Regions from separate parts of the Homo sapiens genome. Here region 2 is linked to region 1. The links are contacts of gene promoters, found by promoter capture Hi-C in blood cells and fetal thymus (Javierre and others, 2016). All regions are on one chromosome and are shown on one strand. Each heading gives the region's core, a stretch centred on a gene start or on the middle of the fragment in contact. The rest is flanking DNA. Distances are from core to core; before and after follow the strand shown.

Region 1 (4,574 bases), core at 574-3,073:
AGTGATCCTCCCACCTCAGCCTCCCAAAGTGCTGAGATTACAGGCACGAGCCACTGTGCCGACTTTAGATTGTACTTTCAATCTCCCCTCTTTGTTCTTTATTGCTCTGAGCTGGCACTGTCTTGGGGGCATTCTGCCATCCATTCTGAGGAATTCACTGGCTGCTGATCCTAAAGGGCTTTGCAGTAATGAGAGAGAGAGGAGGAGGAAGGAAGGGAAAGATGGAAACGTAGCAAAGGGACCCCTGCCTCCCCTATGTCCAGGGGTCAAGTGTGCTCCAGGCATCCTTTCCAATCTCACCCCTGGGGGACAGTGTGACCATCTGCTTATCCTACTGGCTTTTTATTGCATACTTTCTTCATGCCTGCCACCGTGTTAAGCTCTTCTCTGACATTGCCTAACTTAATTCTCACATAGAGTAGGTACATTATTATCCCCATGTTATAAATGTTGTCCTGGGATTCAGAGAAGTTAAGTAATTTGCCCAAGGCTGCACAGCGGGGAGGTGGCAGACCTGCACTGGGCTCTGTCTAATGCTGCACTGCATGTGTCCACTAGCCATGCCCCACTGCCCATCTGGGTTTCAGGAGAAGACAGTGCTCACACACTGTGCTTTTCACTCACTGGGTATGATGCCCCCTGAGCTGGGCAAAGGGCAAAGGGCAGGGCCCTTGAGGAATTTCGGAGAAAACGAGATGAAAGGGAAGACAGGAGGGCCTGGGGGAACACCAGGAGGGTCCCGGGTCAAGGTGGCCCTGGGACATCCGAAGGGCTGCCACTGATGTCATGGAAAAGCCCCTCACCCCACACCTTAAGGTTGCCTGTCACATTCGGCTCCTGAATCTACAATAGCCATCAAGGAAATCCACTTCCCAAGGCCGACTGTCAGGGCATTCTAGCACCTGGGTCTTTGCCTGTGTGGATTAGGGAAATGGAAGGAGTTCCCATACCGGAGCTTGCCTAAGCTGTCTCCTAGGCAAAGACTTACTGTGAGGCCATGGGGCCCCAGAGCTGGAGGAGGCTGACAGGGAGCTTGTTTCGCCCCTCACACACCCTCCACCACCCTGCTGCAGCTTCCCTAAAAGTGGCTAATGTTCCTCTGATAAAATGTTCAACTCTGATGCCACATTGCTCCTTATATTAAAAAAAAAAGGCAAAACACAGCTGAAGTGATCTCTAGAAGCACATCCAGTCATCTCTAGAAGCCTGCAAAGAGGCCTCACTGACCTTTCCTTGCTTGTAGACATCGCCTCGTCTTTGTCCCAGGGTGGCTATGAGCATCTGGACCCCCTCACCCCACTCTCTCTGCCTCCTGAGCACAGTGAACTCAGACTGACTTTCTCCAAAGAGATCCAAGCATGAAGCAAATATTCATTAGTCTCCTAAATAGGGCCATACTCCACATCATTCCTTTTTTAAGGAGAAATCTTAAATAAGATTAATGGCATAATAGATCATTTCAGGTGAGTCAAATAAAAAAAATAAAAGCACAGCATTCTTGAGAAAGAGATTAGTTTTCATAGGCAGAAGCTTAAAGGCAAAACAAAATCCCAACCCACAAACCCTAAAGTAGCATTTTATTATAGCACCAACTTAGAGAAAGGCAAGCCCAGTGATGACTGGGTATCCTCGCAAGTCTACCCTGAACTTGGGACCCATCCCCAGGTGTGGGAGTAAAGAAATCATTGCATGATTTTCAATCTGGGATCGAGCCTTGATAAGAAACCAGCAGTCCTGACCACAGAAGTGGCCCCCCACGTACCTTGGCTCTCTCTGGAGTGTGCCTCTGGAGCCTCGAGCTGCACAGTCCCCCAGCACACCCTCTTGGCAGCCAGGTCCGCCCAGCTATATAGGAGCTGCCGGGGGAGGTGGCATTCCTGCAGGTCTCCAAATAAGGCAGCCCTTCCCTCCCCGGCAGACCAATCAGGGCTTCCTGGACCACTCCTTCATCCTGAGAAGGATGGACCTTCTCATCACACTTTACTAAGGAAACCACGTGAAAATCTTGATGAAGTTCAGCAAGGCTTCAGAGGTGCCTTTTAGAATTGGAATGAGATGTGTTAGAAGGAAAATGCTTTTCCCATCAATATCTATGACAGATGTGGCTTCAACAAGCCTCGCTGGACATGCATAGTGTCCTGTACCTAAAGGCCGGCCTTGGACAGCAAAGCAGTCTTTGCTGACAGCCTCTGTGGGGAGGTTCAGCTCAAAAAGAGGGCAAGCGTTCACCTGGACCACCACGCCCTGAGGATGGGACCAACAGGGTGTGTGTGTGGTGGTGGGGGGGGGGGGCGCCGGGGGGCGGTTACACTTTCATCGGGTAGTGGGAAAACAGAACTGGTAGGTATGGGGTGGAAGACACGTGAGAAGACTTCCTGGCATGTTGGGCGAGGAATGCTTGAAGGACTGAATTAGCCCAAAGGCCAATAAGTTAAAGATCTGCGGGAACCCCGGGAGCAGAGACACATTGACACGCAGCCAGTCCCCTGGACAGGTGGTGCGGGCTGAGGGCGAGTTCTGCAGAGTGCCTTCTCCTCTACATGGTGTCCGAGCGCTGCGCAGAAGGGGCTGGAGGTGCATTCCTGGGCTTTCCAAAGCAAGAGACTCATTGGTATTGGGTGACCATTTTGGGCCTTATACAGAAGGGACTTGCTCAGGTGTCCCTGTTACAGTTAGTACTGCAAGGCAAAGTCAAAAGTGAATATGGGAGCAAGTATGGGGCCAGATTTTCCTGTAAACAGAATGCGATTTTTATGCTGAATGTGACCCCGTCAGTGTTCACGGTGGATTTGCGTCAGAGCAATTTTGCAAACCAAATTAAACGGTTGTTATCGAGAAGGACAGCAGATAGCGCCAGAGAGCTGACAAAGACCGCAGCCGGTCGGTGGGAAACCCGGGCTTCTGGGCTCTGGGTGGATTTGGGGCCTCCGGTTGGGCCTTTCTTTCTCCTCTGACTTTAACATTTGTTTCACTTCCCCACTTTTTTTTTTTTAAGAACTTTTCTATTTCCTTTCTAGAACCACAGACTTTTTGTGCTTCTGAATACACACAAAACAGAAACACAGTAGTGTAATCTTAGTACAGACTGTTTGCAAAATGGAGATGAAAAAATCAAAATCTCCTAATAGTTCAGTACCCAGAGACAAATGTCAGGACAATTTTGTTTCACATATAGATACTTAGGGCCACAGTGTTTAGAGCTAGAAAGGACTCAGAATTCTGTGGTCCAGCTCCTTTGCATGGTGAGCTCACAGGCCCAGATAGGCTCAAGGTCACCCAGCCAGGCCGGCAGTGCAGCCTCGGCAGGCTCGTTGTCCCATTGTGAACTCTGTGCACTATCCCCCTGCCTGTTCCCACTAGACACAATCATCTCCAACCCCCTCCACCCCTCTTCTTCCTATTCCCTTTCTAAGCAGGACTTTACCCAGAGAATGGTGGGAGGTTGGTTTAGAGCTGACGTGGCAGCAGATTCCTCTTGTTAGTGAACAAAAGGCTGTTTACAAAGGCACAGAGGAATGGGGAAGACTGAAATTGCTACAGAAGCAGGGAGGAGCTCTGGAAGCTGCAAACAAGGCAAGAAAACAATAAGCAGATGTGGAGAATGTGGAGCCGACCCAATGCTGCCTCGCATCCTCCCTCCCTGCCTGTAAAGATCGACAAACAGACCAAGGAATTAGTGTGAGAACATTCATTTCTTCAAAAGAACTGAGAGACCAGGGCCAAGTGAATTACACTATGTTACATAAAGTGGATTATATTATATAGTCTGGGAAATAGAACTGTGTGTAGATCATCTTTGAGAAAGCAGGAAGAATGAGATGGAGACCACAGATCTGGGTGTTCTATGATGCAGGGGTCTATGACATAGTTCTCTAGATCGCGTAAATAATAGAAAATTATGCCAGTTTCTAAAAACGCAACAGGGAATGGCTGAATTCTAGAATGCATGAATGGGTCATTATTTGATCAATTTCCAGCTTTGATTAGACCTTGGACCAGTTTGAGAGCATTTATAGGTGAATACAGTGATCGTTTGGATATAACCTAGCAGGCCAAATTAACTATACCAGGGAGATTACTGTTTGGCAAGATTACCAACCATATTTGTGCCAGGAAAAGAAGAACACAAGAAGGATAAGCCAGGTTCCATTGCTGGCCCATGGCCTAATGGTAGAGAAATCGCTGAAATGTGATTTGGAAAATAATACTTATTTAGCTGTGTAGCTACCTAAACAGCTGTTACAGTCTGAATGCTTGTGTCCCTCAACAACTCATATGTTGAAATTCTCACCCCCGAGGTAATGGTAATGGAGGTGGATCTTTGGGAGGTGATTAGGTCATATGGGTGAAGCCCTTATGATTGGGATTAGTGCCCTTATAATAGAGGCCTGAGAGTACTCCCTTGTCCCTTCTGCCATGTGGGCACACAGTGAAAGATGGCCATCTATGAACCACAAAGTGGGTTCTCACCAGACACCCAATCTGCTGGCACCTTGATCTTGGACTTGCCAGCCTCCAGAACAGTGAGAAATAAATGTGTGGTGTTTATAAGCCACCCAGTTTATGATATTTTA
Region 2 (4,574 bases), core at 1,141-3,640, 90 kb after region 1:
GGGTTCCAGCCTAGAGAGATGACAGCAGAGGAGGGATGGGAACATCTAAGTGGTGAAACTGTCCCTATAGACTTTATAAAATTAATCAGGAAAGAAGGAAGGGGGAGAAATGAAGATAAACCAAGCTTGCAGCACACTCAGCATTGACCATGAGGTCCGCTTGCTCTCTGATCCACTTCCTCACAGCTGTCTGGGGCCTATCGACTCAGGATTACATGAACCCTGTTACGAGATGATCCTTCCCCTTAGCTGCTCTATAGATAACAACTTCAACATTATAAAACATTAACTTTTCCATTTGAGATACTCTTTCAGTTTCTGCATACCAATGAAACTACTGATGCCAGCTGGTCTTAAGGACCTCACAGGAGCTGAGTCACCAAAGAATGCAGTTTCCACATCCTGATGATTTCCTTCCCCTTATCCCAACTAATCAACAACCCCAAATTCTTATCTAGAAATGGACCAAATTCCTTGATATTGACTGGCACTGGCCGAGGCTTCCACATATGGCTCAGTGGATATGTAACAGGATCGTTTGCCCAATGCCTGGCAAGTCAATATAACAAGACAAGGGGGATTGCTGCAGAGAAAAAGTCTAATAATCATAGGAGAGCTAAATGAGGAGGTGGGAAGAAACCTCAAATCCACCAACCTAAGGAATTTGGAGCTACGGATATTAAGGGCTTTGGAAAGGGCTGAGATGTGGGGATTGTTGATTGGTGGAAGAGTGCAGGGTGAAGTCATAGGACAGGGAGATGAAGAAACTGCATTCTCATGCTGATTTGGTTCCTCGTGGGGTCTTCAAACTCATTGGCATCAGCCTTTCCTGATGGAATTCAGGATATGAAGAATATCTTGAGCAATTCTTAAACAAAAGCCTAATGATTCTAACATCAGAAGTCCTATCTATGGGGAAAATGGGATTTAAACAGTCAGTATCTTGAGCTGCATGACTTTCAGTTTAAGGAAGTGGGCCAGAGTGCAGCCTGATTAATGCTTAATTATAACTATATTTCTGCCCCAAACCTGGCATCTAAATTCTTGTTAACCCTATGAGGATGGTTTTATTATTATTATTATTATAAAAGAAAGAGGTTTAATTGTCTCATGGCTCTGCAGGGCTGGGGAGACCTCAGGAAGCTTACGATCATGGTGGATGGGGAAGCAAACATATCCTTCTTCACATGAGGCACGAAGGAGAAGTGCTGAACAAAGGGGGAAAACCCTTACAAGGGATGGTCCTTATAAAACCACTAGATCTTGTGAGAACTCACTTACTATCACAAGAACAGCATGGGAGAAACCACCCCGATGATTCGATTACCTCTCACTGCATCCCTCCCACAACACATGGGGATTATGGGAACTACTATTCAAGATGAGATTTGAGTGGGGACAAAGCCAAACCATATCATTCCACCCCTGGCCCCTCCCAAATCTTATGTCCTCACATTTTAAAACACAATCATGCCTTTCCAACAGTACCCTAAAGTCTTAGCTTTTTCCAGAATTAACCCAAAAGTCCAAATCCAAAGTCTCATCTGAGACAAGGCAAGTTTCTTCCTCCTATGAGCCTGTAAAATCAAAACAAGTTAGTTACATCCTAGATACAATGGGGGTACAGGCACTGGGTAAATATACCCATTCCAAATGAGAGGAATTGGCCAAAACTAAGGGGCTACAGACACCATGCAAATCTGAAATCCAATAGGGCAGTCATTAAACCTTAAAGCTCCCAAATGATCTCCTTTGACTCCATGTCTCACATCCAGGTCACACTGATGCAAGAGGTAAGTTCCCACAGCCTTGGGCAGCTCCACCTCTGTGGCTTTGCAGGGTACTGTCCCCTACTCCTGGCTGTTTTCACAAACTGGCACTGCATTTCTGTGGCTTTTCCAGGTACATGGTGCAAGCTGTTGGTGGATCTACCATTCTGGAGTCTGGATGATGGTGGCTCTCTTCTCACAGCTCCACTAGACAGTGCCCTATTAAGGACTCTGTGTGGAGGCTCTGACCCCACATTTCCCTCCCTCACTACCCTAGCAGAGGTTCTCCATGAGGACTCCACCACTGCAGCAAACTTCTGCCTGAACATCCTGGCATTTCCATACATCCTCTGAAATCTAGGCAGAGGTTCCCAAACCTCAATTCTTGACTTCTGTGTACCTGCAGGCTCAACACTATGTGGAAGCTGCCAAGGCTTGGGCTTACACCCTCTAAAGCTACAGACTGAGCTGTACTCTGGCCCCTTTTAGCCACAGCTGAAGCAGCTGGGATGCAGGGCACCAAGTCCCTATTTTGCACACAGCAGGGGTCCCTGAGCCCAGCCCAGGAAACCATTTCTCCCTCCTAGGCCTCTGGACCTGTGATGGGAGGGGCTGCCATGAAGGTTTTTGACATACCGTGGAGACCTTACCCCATTGTTTTGGAGGTTAAAATTTGGCTCCTCGTTACTTATGCAAATTTCTGCAGCAGGCTTAAATTTCTCCCCAGAAAATGGGTTTTTCTTTTCTATTCCATGTTCAGGCTGCAAATTTTCCAAATTTCCATGCTCTGCTTCCTCTTGAATGCTTTGCTGCTTAGAAATTTCTTCCACCAGATACCCGAAATCATCTCTCTCAAGTTTGAAGTTCCACAAATCCCTATGAGGATGGTTTTAGACACTCTTGGGTGATTCGTCTCCCTGCAGGTATAACGCTGAACCATGCTTCTGCAGGCATCTGGTCCCTGGCACAGTCAGTGACTCCAGAGCCAGTACCAGCCCATCAGGGCAACCCTCTTCTCAGGCCCCAGACTCCCCTCCTCCCTACTTCTGGCCACTGAATAATGAAGTCCACCAAATCTTGAGATGACACTGTCAACCCTGCTTTCCCACAGCTCCCTAATTCCATGTCTCCCATAGTCTCCGATTATTTCCAGGGGTGCCTTGAAATGTAAAAGATATTCAAAGCAAAATTTGTTGGCAGTCAACTTTATTCGTACAAGCATTCCATTAAGGCACTTAAAGGGATGGCAGAAAATCAAACAATGGGAGGGACACGCTGCCCTTGAAAAGGAGTTTCTTTGCTGATGCCACCACCGGAAATAGTGCCATTAATTTTATAAAAGAGGTATCATATTCAGAAAGACTCTATCAACCACTGTAAATGCTTTGGAGCCTCTAACAGTTGTGAAATGTGGAAGCCAAGGATGTAGGGGCCTGTTGGAGTGCGCCCATTCCTGGATCTGGGAAGGAGACGCCTTTGAAGCTGTACCTCTCGGATGGCTTTGATCCTCCAAGACCCAGATATAAAGACAAGATGAGGGAGGTGTTATTAGTGTTATTATTTATACTTGGTGGAGCTTACATGTGGGACCTCCTTTATAAAGTGCTTTGGGCACTACTGATTTATAAGTAATTTCACTTCTCACAGCATCACTTCTGGGTGGAGGAAGAATGCCAGAGGCAGCTCTGGAAATAATCACTTTTCTCCAAGATAGAGTACTCATTAATCCAGGCCTAGTGGGAACATCTATTCCCTTTATTGTATCCTTTTACTGGAAATTATTTCTTTAGTAGAAGGTCATGTGCCTCAGTGACCTGGAATGGGGGTTCTCCAGTAATTTCTATCATTCTCCCCTGTTGAAAGCTTATGTATTGAGAACATCTGGGTAAGAGTCACAGGCAGCTTGGAAAAGAGGGCAGTGATTAGGGATTTCTAGTTTTATTATTTTTTTTTAGCATTTGTTGAGATTGGTTTAAAATCCAGGACATGGTTAATCTTGGTGAATGCTCCCTAGGCACTTGAAAAGCACATGTATTCTGCTGTTATAGGGTTGTTTGTTCTGTTAGATCCTGTTGGTTGAAGGTGTTGTTCAATTCTTCTATATCCTCATTATTTTCTTTTTTATTTTTTTAGAGACAGGGTCTATCTCTGTTGTCCAGGCTGGAGTGCAGTGGTGCAGTCATAGCTCACTACAGCCTCAAACTCCTGGGTTCAAGTAATCCTCCTGCCTCAGCCTCCTGAGTAGTTAGGACTACAGGCTTGTGCCACTATGCCTGGCTAATTTTTAAAATTGTTATTTTTTCTTTTTCTGTGCCTAACGTAGCCATGGCTCGTGGTCCCAAGAAGCATCTAAAGCAGGTAGCAGCTCCAAAGCATTGGATGCTGGATAAATTGACTGGTGTGTTTGCTCCTCATCCATCCACCAGTCCCCACAAGTTGAGAGAGTGTCTCCCCCTCATCATTTTCATAAGGAACAGACTTAAGTATGCCCTGACAGGAGAGGAAGTAAAGAAGATTTGCATGCAGCGGTTCATTAAGATCGATGGCAAGGTCCGCACTGATATAACCTACCCTGCTGGATTCATGGATGTCATCAGCATTGACAAGATGGGAGAGAATTTCTGTCTGATCTGTGACACCAAGGGTCACTTTGCTGTACATCGTATTACACCTGAGGAGGCCAAGTACAAGTTGTGAAAAGTGAGAAAAAATATTTGTGCGCACAAAAGGAATCCCTCATCTGGTGACTCATGATGCTCGTACCATCTGCTACCCTGATCCCCTCATCAAGGTGAATGACACCAT

Evidence for each region. The method cuts DNA at HindIII sites, captures the fragments that hold promoters and counts their contacts. A CHiCAGO score of 5 or more calls a contact.
Region 2: a contact is called between a fragment that was not itself captured here and the fragment with the promoter of PRND in region 1, in 1 of 17 cell types (M0 macrophages). The highest score is 5.4, in M0 macrophages.

Annotation. Positions count from the first base shown.
Region 1 is chr20:4,719,158-4,723,731 of GRCh38, reverse strand. PRND (prion like protein doppel) reads right to left here and starts at 1,823. Exons shown (of 2, transcript NM_012409.4): 1 at 1,763-1,823. RefSeq lists an enhancer at 2,901-3,120. The HindIII fragment of the contact is 8,148 bases long and covers 1,533-4,574 here.
Region 2 is chr20:4,629,740-4,634,313 of GRCh38, reverse strand. It overlaps the pseudogene RPS4XP2. Among named protein-coding and RNA genes, the nearest start is that of PRNP, 54 kb to the left of the region's middle. The HindIII fragment of the contact is 2,489 bases long and covers 1,146-3,634 here.